Regions from separate parts of the Homo sapiens genome. Here all the other regions are linked to region 3. The links are contacts of gene promoters, found by promoter capture Hi-C in blood cells and fetal thymus (Javierre and others, 2016). All regions are on one chromosome and are shown on one strand. The core of a region is centred on a gene start or on the middle of the fragment in contact, and the rest is flanking DNA. Distances in the headings are between cores, read along the strand shown.

Evidence for each region. Contacts are between HindIII fragments. The CHiCAGO score rates a contact against its expected background, and 5 or more counts as called.
Region 1: a contact is called between a fragment that was not itself captured here and the fragment with the promoter of CXCR4 in region 3, in 1 of 17 cell types (naive B cells). The highest score is 7.2, in naive B cells.
Region 2: a contact is called between a fragment that was not itself captured here and the fragment with the promoter of CXCR4 in region 3, in 1 of 17 cell types (fetal thymus). The highest score is 7.1, in fetal thymus.

What each region holds. Positions count from the first base shown.
Region 1 is chr2:136,417,713-136,420,542 of GRCh38, forward strand. No RefSeq gene overlaps it. Among named protein-coding and RNA genes, the nearest start is that of CXCR4, 300 kb to the left of the region's middle. The HindIII fragment of the contact is 7,220 bases long and covers 1-2,830 here.
Region 2 is chr2:135,821,521-135,824,649 of GRCh38, forward strand. It overlaps LCT (lactase), which reads right to left. Exons shown (of 17, transcript NM_002299.4): 4 at 2,381-2,483; 5 at 500-578. LCT-AS1 (LCT antisense RNA 1) reads left to right here. Exons shown (of 2, transcript NR_045486.1): 2 at 155-1,567. Among named protein-coding and RNA genes, the nearest start is that of LCT-AS1, 2.9 kb to the left of the region's middle. The HindIII fragment of the contact is 2,076 bases long and covers 733-2,808 here.
Region 3 is chr2:136,116,597-136,119,440 of GRCh38, forward strand. It overlaps CXCR4 (C-X-C motif chemokine receptor 4), which reads right to left and starts at 1,553. Exons shown (of 2, transcript NM_003467.3): 1 at 1,450-1,553. The coding sequence starts at 1,464. RefSeq lists a silencer at 175-344 and an enhancer at 475-544. The HindIII fragment of the contact is 7,141 bases long and covers 1-1,987 here.

The DNA of each region.
Region 1 (2,830 bases), core at 49-2,548, 300 kb after region 3:
TGTTCAGTGTTTGATTTCTGCTGTAGCCCTGGCAGATGACAACAGATTGTTGGGTATGAACAAGAGAAGATTATTTTCTATCTGATCATTCTTTGTGTGTATTTGGGGTGACCGAAGGTTTTTAATATTGAAAAGTCAAACAGCCTGGACCATTTCACCCACCATCAGCTTAGCCTATTATTTACAGTCCCATTCCTTTAACTTTCCAGTTCTTGGAAAAAAAAAATCAACTATCGACTGTTTGGACAGATAATGTGGGAAGATGAAAGTGGGAGATAAATACACATCTTCCATTACTCTTAGATCTCTTCTGGAGTCTTCGGTTGACACACAGTCTCCTATTTGTGCCTTATGTGGGTGTCCCATGAGAAAGGTCCATGGATATGGCAAGTATTCTTTAACCATGTCATGCCAAGGATTTGGGCATAGCAAGGGACTAAGTGCCTGGAAGAAATATTTCAGCATCTGGGGAGTTCTTTAAAATACACAGATAATTACTTCGAGATTTCTATAATTTAACTGCAAGTGTTAAAAATATATTTCCGAGGATTGATTGGGTGCTAAGCCAGTGTTTACATCTGGGAGGTAGGTCAGGGACAGGGGGCGGTGACAAGGAAGAAAGGGACATTAAGACTGTGACTGGTCTGGGATTTTACCCCACTTGCCAGCCGACAAGTTAACCTGCCACAGTTTAATGGATGCTGGTGGACTCCTGGGTCAGAGACAAATAACTTTACTATATTCCACATTAGCAGTAACCAGAATATCAACATTTGTATCAGGGCAATGTGGAGAAGGCCAGGTAATGCCTGTGTGTGCAGTGAGTTGTGTTACAGAGGTACCCTGAGTTCAGGGAATCCAAATCTTTTCTAACAGGGAATAAGCATGGCTGGGCTTAACTCCAGAGGCAGATGCCATCTTTATGACGTGGGCAATAAACAACCTTGCTCTTTGCTCTGGAGGGAGGCACAATTTCTGTCTTCCAAGGCTGCTCTCTATACAAACATCCTGGGAAAGATAGTCTCCAGCAAAGGCAGTCAGACACATGGAGAATTGTCTTCCAAGAGGGACTTAGAAATATTTTGGCCATAAAGATGAAATTAACTCCCTCCCCGCCAGCTCCCTTAGGTGAGTTTACCCCTTGGGTCACAGTAGCTTTTTCTCTTTAACTTCCAAGGAAATCCAAGGAGACACATTTCTATCTGAACTCAAGGCACAAGTCAAACCCTTCCTGGGGTCAAAGGCTGAGAAGAATTGTGAAAGCTCTGTCCACTTCATGACCTGTATATCCCTTTTACTTTGCTGCTCATTGCAAGGTAGTTGAACATTCCGACTATTAGAAATGCTAATTTTACATCATCTTTAACCTCGAAGGGACTGCAGGTTGTTGCCTGGGTCAGTCCTTGACTGAGACAGACTTTACATTTTGGGCAACTAAGGTTTGGAAGAATTAAGTGTCGTCTTCAAAGTCATTCAATAAAGACCTAGTGGAACGATGATTCCAAGTGAGGTCCACGGAAATGGAAAATTTCCTGTCATTTTCCTCAAAACCAGAGTTTTGACTAGGGAATCTTTTTAGACAGGATCGACCAAGAAAGGTTGAGGGGAAACTAAGATGAAAGATGGGTGATGGTCCTCAGAATACCTTTCCTTAGCAGTTGTCCAGAAAGCAGTGTGTGAAAGAGATTGCCAGTTGCCTACCCAGTATCCATGCTCTCTTGTTTTTTTAGGATAAGATCCCTGTATATTTGAGTATGGCAATTCTTCCAACTTTTATTTAGTTTTTAATTTTAAAATTTCTAATTTTAAAGATTTTAATTTGTTTTTAATTGAAAAATAAAAATTGCATATATTTATCATGTAGAATGGGTTTTGAAATACGTGTCCATCATGGAATGGCTAAATCAAGCTAATTAACATATGTATTGTCTCACATACTTATCTTTTTGTGGTGAGAACATTTAAAATCTCTTTGAATTTTTCAAGATGCCCTGCTTAAAAAAACAAACATATTTGTTAGCTTTCCTTGAGGTTGGGGTGGTCAATGAGGTGTGAGTGGAAGTCACTTCCAGCAAAATTCCTTCAAGGGGATTCACCTGGCTGGCAGGAGACCCATTCCTTTCCCCGTCTCCCTTCTCCCTGCCTGGAACATGGCTAGGATAACAAGTCCCAGTGACAGTCCTGGGATGGTGAGGAGACCTCATGGATGGAATCTGAGTGGAAGATGGTGGAGCAGAAAGTGAGAAGAAGCCTGGGTCATCGCTAACACCATAGGGCACCACGCCAGCCCTGGACAATGCACTTTTGGATTTCTTCTGTGTGAGCGAAAAATGATGCCTCCTTTTTTTTTTTGCCACTGTATTTTTGGGTAGCAGGTGAATGTTAATTTTTAACAGATAGTGGGTGCTTACTGATACCTAACTGTGATCCCTGAATGTTCATTGTATCCAGTCGAGTTTCTTAGTTGCAAGTAACAGAAAGTTTGGCAACCTTTAGCAAAAAAAGGACTAATGAACTTTTTAAGAAGGTTTACAGGGTCAAATAATGGAAGTGATGGCTGAGGAACTTGGAGCAGGTGGGCACCAGATTGTTCCAGAACATCTTATAGTGGGCTCTGCTCATTGTTCTCTCCAGGGCTCCACAGGAATCAATGGATCCTAATTTCTTGTCTGTCCTTGTGTCACTGTCAAGATTCAACATCTCAGGGAAGCGAGTATTCTATTGGCTGAGCCAAGGTCACAGGACTGCCCTGTATCAAGCTGGCGAGAGGAAGGACAGAGCAGAAGGAGCCTCGTGGAGCCCCTCCAGCTTCCACTCTGGGAGGGCAGGC
Region 2 (3,129 bases), core at 521-3,020, 290 kb before region 3:
AATCCTAGCTGGTGCAGTGGCACAATCTCGGCTCACAGCACCTTCTGCCTCCTGGGCTCAAGCGATCCTCTGACCTCAGTCTCCCAAGTAGCTGGGACCATAGGCATGCACCACTATGCCTGGCTAATTTTTGTATTTTTGTAATTTTTTGTAGAGACAGAGTTTCACCATGTTGCCCAGCCCAGTCTTGAACTCCTGGACTCAAGCAATCTTCCCACCTTTGCCTACCAGAGTGCTGGGATTACAGGTGTGAGCCATCATGCTAGTTGCGCACAGTTGGGCGAACTGACAGATGAGAAAGCAGAACCTCGTGAGTCCCACTCAGTAAGAGACTCCCTACTTTCTTTCTGAGTCTTTGTTTCTCATCAATTGAATGGCAATAAACAACTTGGTGGCCCAAGAGTTGATGACAACAGTCCTATAAGATTATACATGTAAAAGAAACAGAGTATTCTACAAATATCAGTTATTGATAGTTCAATAGGCAACCTGACATTACCTTTTCTTGGAACTTGATGAACAACTCAGAAACTCATTAATATCAAACCCAATGGTGAGCACTTGGTCTTTATTTATGGCTGTAAGAGAAGAAATTGAATTAACTCTATGTAAATGCCAACTAAGAACATGCAAGTCTGAAATCAACAGTTTTCCTCGCTCATACGACACACCCAAACTCCAAGCAGTGGTTCCAAGCCCCTTTGGAAAATACCATGGGCTAACGACTTTAAAAGCTTAGAAGTGAATTCTACTTACTTATTACTTAAAAGTGGTTCTCAAACTTCAAGGTGAATCAAAATCATCTGTAGAGCTTGTTAAAACACAGGTTGCTGGTCCCACCCCAAGAGTGTCTGATGCAGTAGGTCTCAAGTAGGGCTCAAGAATATGCATTTCTAATGAGCTCCCAGGTGATGCTAATGTTGATGCTGCTGGTCTGGGGACCACAACTTTGGGAACAATTGATTTAGAAGAACTCAAAGATCAGAAAGGGGTGGAATATTTTTAAAATTGTGGTAAAATACGCATAAACAGAAAAGGTACAATTTTAACCACTTAGAGAGAGGTGGGATCTAAGAACAGAAATTGTTATGCCATCAAAGGTGAGTTCAGATAAGCATTATTAAATGGTATCTATGGATAAACTTCAGGGGCCCTGTGGAGCCAACCCATTGCTGGGATGGGGTCCAGGTGTGCTATGGTTTGGATGTGGTTTGTCCCTACAAAAACTCATGTTGAAATTTAATTGCCAGTGTAACATTATTGAGAGGTTATGGACTTTTAAGAGGCATTTGGGTCATGAGGGATCCGCCTTCAGGGATTAGTGCAGTCTCCAGGGAGTGAGTGAGTTCCCATTCTAGTGGGACTGGATTAGTTACCATACAGTGGTTGTTATAAAGTGAGGCTGCTTCTGGTGTTTTATCTGTTTGCAGGCACTTCCTTCCCCTTCCACTTCTCTGCCAGGTTAGGATGCAGCATGAGGCCCTCACCAGAAGCTGACCAGATGTGGCTGCCTGATCTTGAACTTCCCAGTCCCCAGAACCATGAGCTAAATAAACCTTTTTTCTCTATAAATTACGCAGTCTAGAGTATTCTATTATAGCAACACAAGACAGACTAAGACACAGTGGTAGAAAGAACACTACTGACTTCTCCCATACTCTGGCCTATGGACAAGAGTGACAGACAGACAAGAGTGAATATCAGGGCCCTCAGGCACATTCCTCTCTGCCCCTTCCTCCCTTCTTGCAGAGTCTCCAGTGACTGCCAGCCTCAATGCTATCATAGACCCCACCTTTCCCCTGACTTGATTGGACCAGAAGCAGCCTCCTGATCCATGGCCAACAATCAGATTCACTTTCAAGAATTTGAACTAAGAGACACTAGGAAGATGGCCCTTGAGCTGTGAGTCCTACACTTGAAAGTTCTTAGCATCTTGGTCAGGTACCCACCAGGGCCATGTGCAAACTGAGATAATGGGGACATGGAACAAGGGTAAGTGGAGAGGGCTGGCTGGAGAGAGACGGGCAGAGGAAAGCCCTGCCAAGAGGAGCAGAGATGAGAGACCTTGGAGGGAGAGGTAATAAAAGGAGGCAAAGATGATTTTCCATGCTTACAACTCACAGCTGAGGCCTAACTATCTTTATGTCCATAAGAGGCATCCTTGTGTCGAACCTCTCCTCTTTCTTGGGTCAATGGGGGATGGTTGCAAGGGACCATCAGTAGGAAGGCATAGTACACTAACCCAGTCTGGGGTGGGCTTTTATACTAGTCTTCCTCCCATGCTCCTCCTCCCATTGGAACCCCGGACTTTCAAGACTGCTACCTAGCACACCAGTGCACCAGATGTCACTCAAAACCTCTTCAGCAATGGCCCACTCACCTTCAAAAAGGCTGAAGAGCAGACTGGCTGGGTTCTTCATGGTGGAGGGGCAGTCTGGGAGTTTTAGGTTGAAGATGAAAACTTTCACTTTTGGCTCAATGGTCTGAAAAAGAGAAGGACCAGCAAGTGAACTGAAGCCTCCTGGAAAGCATCTTGATAACAGGGACAGAGTTTCAAGATGAGAAGCTGTGGCACTTACTCTGGCTTTGGAAATGACCTCTAAGTATCTCAGTTAATTAAAGGAGTCAACTCTAGACTCTGAAGGAGAAAGATCTACAATTTTCAATAACATAGTCTACCCTCCCCACCAACCCCCACCTTCACCTCTTCTTTCATCACAGGCTTACAGGGCACCTCTTAGAGCCAGGCACGGTGTTAGGATCAGGAACAAGGCCACTGCTCACATCCAGAGCCTGTGCTACTTAAGAAGCTTAGTTAAGAGGCCACCATCTATGGATGTCTGGGATTTGCTTCAAAATAATCCAGTTTGGTTAGCTGGGTGTGGTGGTGCATGCCTGTAGTTCCAGCTACTTGGGAGGCTGAGCCAGGAGGATCGCTTGAGCCCAGGAGTTTAAGGCTGCAGTGAGCTATGATTGCACCACTGCACTCCAGCCTGGGTGACAGAGCAAGATCCTGTCTCTAAAAAAAATTTTTTTTAATTAAAAATCTAGTTTGGGAGATAGAAGTTATAGGTTAGGTGAAAGAAGATTAGCTATGAGCCAATAATAGCTCTTGCAGCTGGAGATGGC
Region 3 (2,844 bases), core at 303-2,802:
CCCAAGCGGGCGCTCCTCCGGTGTGTGGGTCTCTTGCCATCCTCGTGTTTATCACTTGGCGCGTTTGGGACGTTAGGGAGCGGGGCATTTTCCTGGGTGGAGAAGGTAACGGGGTCTGCACCCGTGGTCCTCGCCCCAAGTTTCATTTCCTCACTCTCCCGGGTGGCTTCCCATTACCCCGCCACTGATCCAGTTAACCCGGCCGGAGGTGGGCAGCTGGAAGCCTCCAGGCGGTGGGCACGCGGGGGGCCGGGTCGTCCAGCCCCGGGCCGCCGCGGCTGCCCACTACACCCACGCCAACCGCCCGCAAGCAGCGCTGCAGGGGCTCCGCTGGGCGACACGCCAGGCTCTGTCCCACAGGGTGCTGGGGAGCGACTGGGCGGCTCCGCCGCGAGCGTCTTTGAATTGCGCGCCGCTGCAGGAAACCAAAAACTCCCTAGCAAGAGGGTTTCAAAAGGTTTCTGGAAACCACCGACGGTTAAACATCACAACTGGACTCGGAGAGAGCCAAACGGTTTCCCCACTTGCACCTGCCAGTCTTCGCGGCGGCGACCTGGCAGCCCAGGTGCGGTCTTAACCGCCCCCGCCCCTCACCCCGTACCCGCTCCTATCCCCGGAGCGCAAATCTCAGGGCTGGCAGCTGCGCGGTGTCAAAGGGGAGGTCAAACCACTCCGCTGACCTCTGCACGACCCCAAACTCTCGAACTGCAGGACCCACTCGCGGCCGTGGGGAAGAGGCGCGCTTCGGACGGCGGGAAGGTTTTCCCCCTCAAACCCAAAGCGCGCGGGCGGATCAACTCCTAGCTGCTGCCACCACTCGATCCCCTCAGAGGATCGGCGCGGTGGGTCCACCCGCCTCTCCCGCCCTCTGCCTACTGTGCTGGGAGACTGGCACAGCTCCGTCGGCCGCACAGAGTTTAACAAACACGCACCCAGTGTCAAGAACAGTCACCAGGCGCTTAACCCCGAAGTTAAAGCGGGCGCAATCTCCTCCTGGGAACTCAGCCCAGGCACGCCGCCCTCCGCCTCTAAATTCAGACAATGTAACTCGCTCCAAGACATCCCCGCTTCCCCAAGGAAGAGACCGGTGGTCTGAGTCCCGAGGCAGCGCGCACGCCTTCTCTGCACTTGTGCACAGAATGTTCTTACGTTTGCAAACAGCGTGCAAGCCGCCGCGCGCGGCGGGACTCAAGGGGGAGACACATGCAGCCACTGGAACGCTCTTTCCAGTCGTTTCTCCTCGACTCACAGAGAAAAAGATTCCAATCCTGCTCCCCCCCCACCCACCCGCACTATATAGGCATGGTCAAGAAAACTCCTTTCGGTGACCCTTTTTTGGAGTACGGGTACCTCCAATGTCCTGGCCGCTTCTGCCCGCTCGGAGAGGGGCTGCGCTCTAAGTTCAAACGTTTGTACATTTATGACAAAGCAGGTTGAAACTGGACTTACACTGATCCCCTCCATGGTAACCGCTGGTTCTCCAGATGCGGTGGCTACTGGAGCACTCAGGCCCTCGGCGTCACTTTGCTACCTGCTGCCGCAGCCAACAAACTGAAGTTTCTGGCCGCGGCCGGACTTTTATAAAAACACGCTCCGAGCGCGGCGCATGCGCCGCTGGGGCGGGGAGGGAGAAGGCGGGGTGGGGGAGAGGGGCAGACGCGAGGAAGGAGGGCGCAGGGGCGGGGCGGAGAGGTGCGCGGCTTGGGAAGCCCAGGGGACCCTGCTGTTTGCGGGTGGTCGGTAGTGAGTCCGGAGCCGGACAGGACCTCCCAGAGGCATTTCCTAAGTTTGAGGGAAGCGGGATGCGCCTGAAGACAGGTGGGAAGCGCGGGCTAGGAACGCGTCTCTCTGTGGCGCGTCCATCCTTGCTAAAGTGGATGGAATTCCAGACCTGGGAATGCTACAGTAGAGACACTGAGGCCCAGGGAAGGGGAGTGACTTGCTGGAGTAACCCAACCAGTAGGCGGCAATGCTGGAAGTAGGGCCAAGCTTCCAACGCCATTCCCCGCGCTTTCAGCAGACGCAGCCCATTCAGGAGGTAAAAGGAGTAAAGATCCTTCCTTCGGAGGATGTAGCTATACTTGCACATTCACAGCATCACTAGGGTCAGGTGCAGATAATTAGGAGATACTTTCAGAAGAAGGTAGGATTTGGCATAATTCTGGAGACTGATCAGATGTAGATATGTATTGCTCAGTAATTTCATAATAGCGGTAACCAATTCGCGAATAGTGCTTTATTATCCTAAAAGTATGCTTTATTATAAGAGTAATTTAGCGACCAGTACTTTTTGTAACAGATCACTAGGAACTTGCACAGAATCACTCATTCATTCTCACAACACCGTGTGGGTATTACCATCACAGAGATGCATTTAGTCCGATATTTATAGAAGGACGAACTGCGTGCCACGCACTGTTCTAGGCGTTGGGGATCCAGCGTGAACCAGACAAGGCCCGCATTCGGAGAAACCAGCAAATAAGCCCGGAGAGATGAAATGCCAGGGATGGGCAGGGATTCCAAGCCGGGCTTGAACCCAGGTCTTCGGTCCCCATACTCGGCGTCTTCCACGATTTTGAGCAGAGGACAAGCTTTGGCACGAATCAGAAATTAGGTTGAAGAACTGGGCGGGGCGGAGTGGGGGTGGGGGTCAGACGTTTAAAGCGATCTCAGACTGGCTGAGGTTTGCAGTGGGCGCGCAGACAGTGCTTTCCCCCTCGCGCCACTTCCCTCCGGCGCGGAGACTGGGTGGGGCGGGGGAGCGAGTGTGGGGCGGGGCCGAGAAACTGCGTCCGCAGGCGGGGTGGCCGCTGCGGAGATAGCTGGGACCGAGGCGCGTGCGTC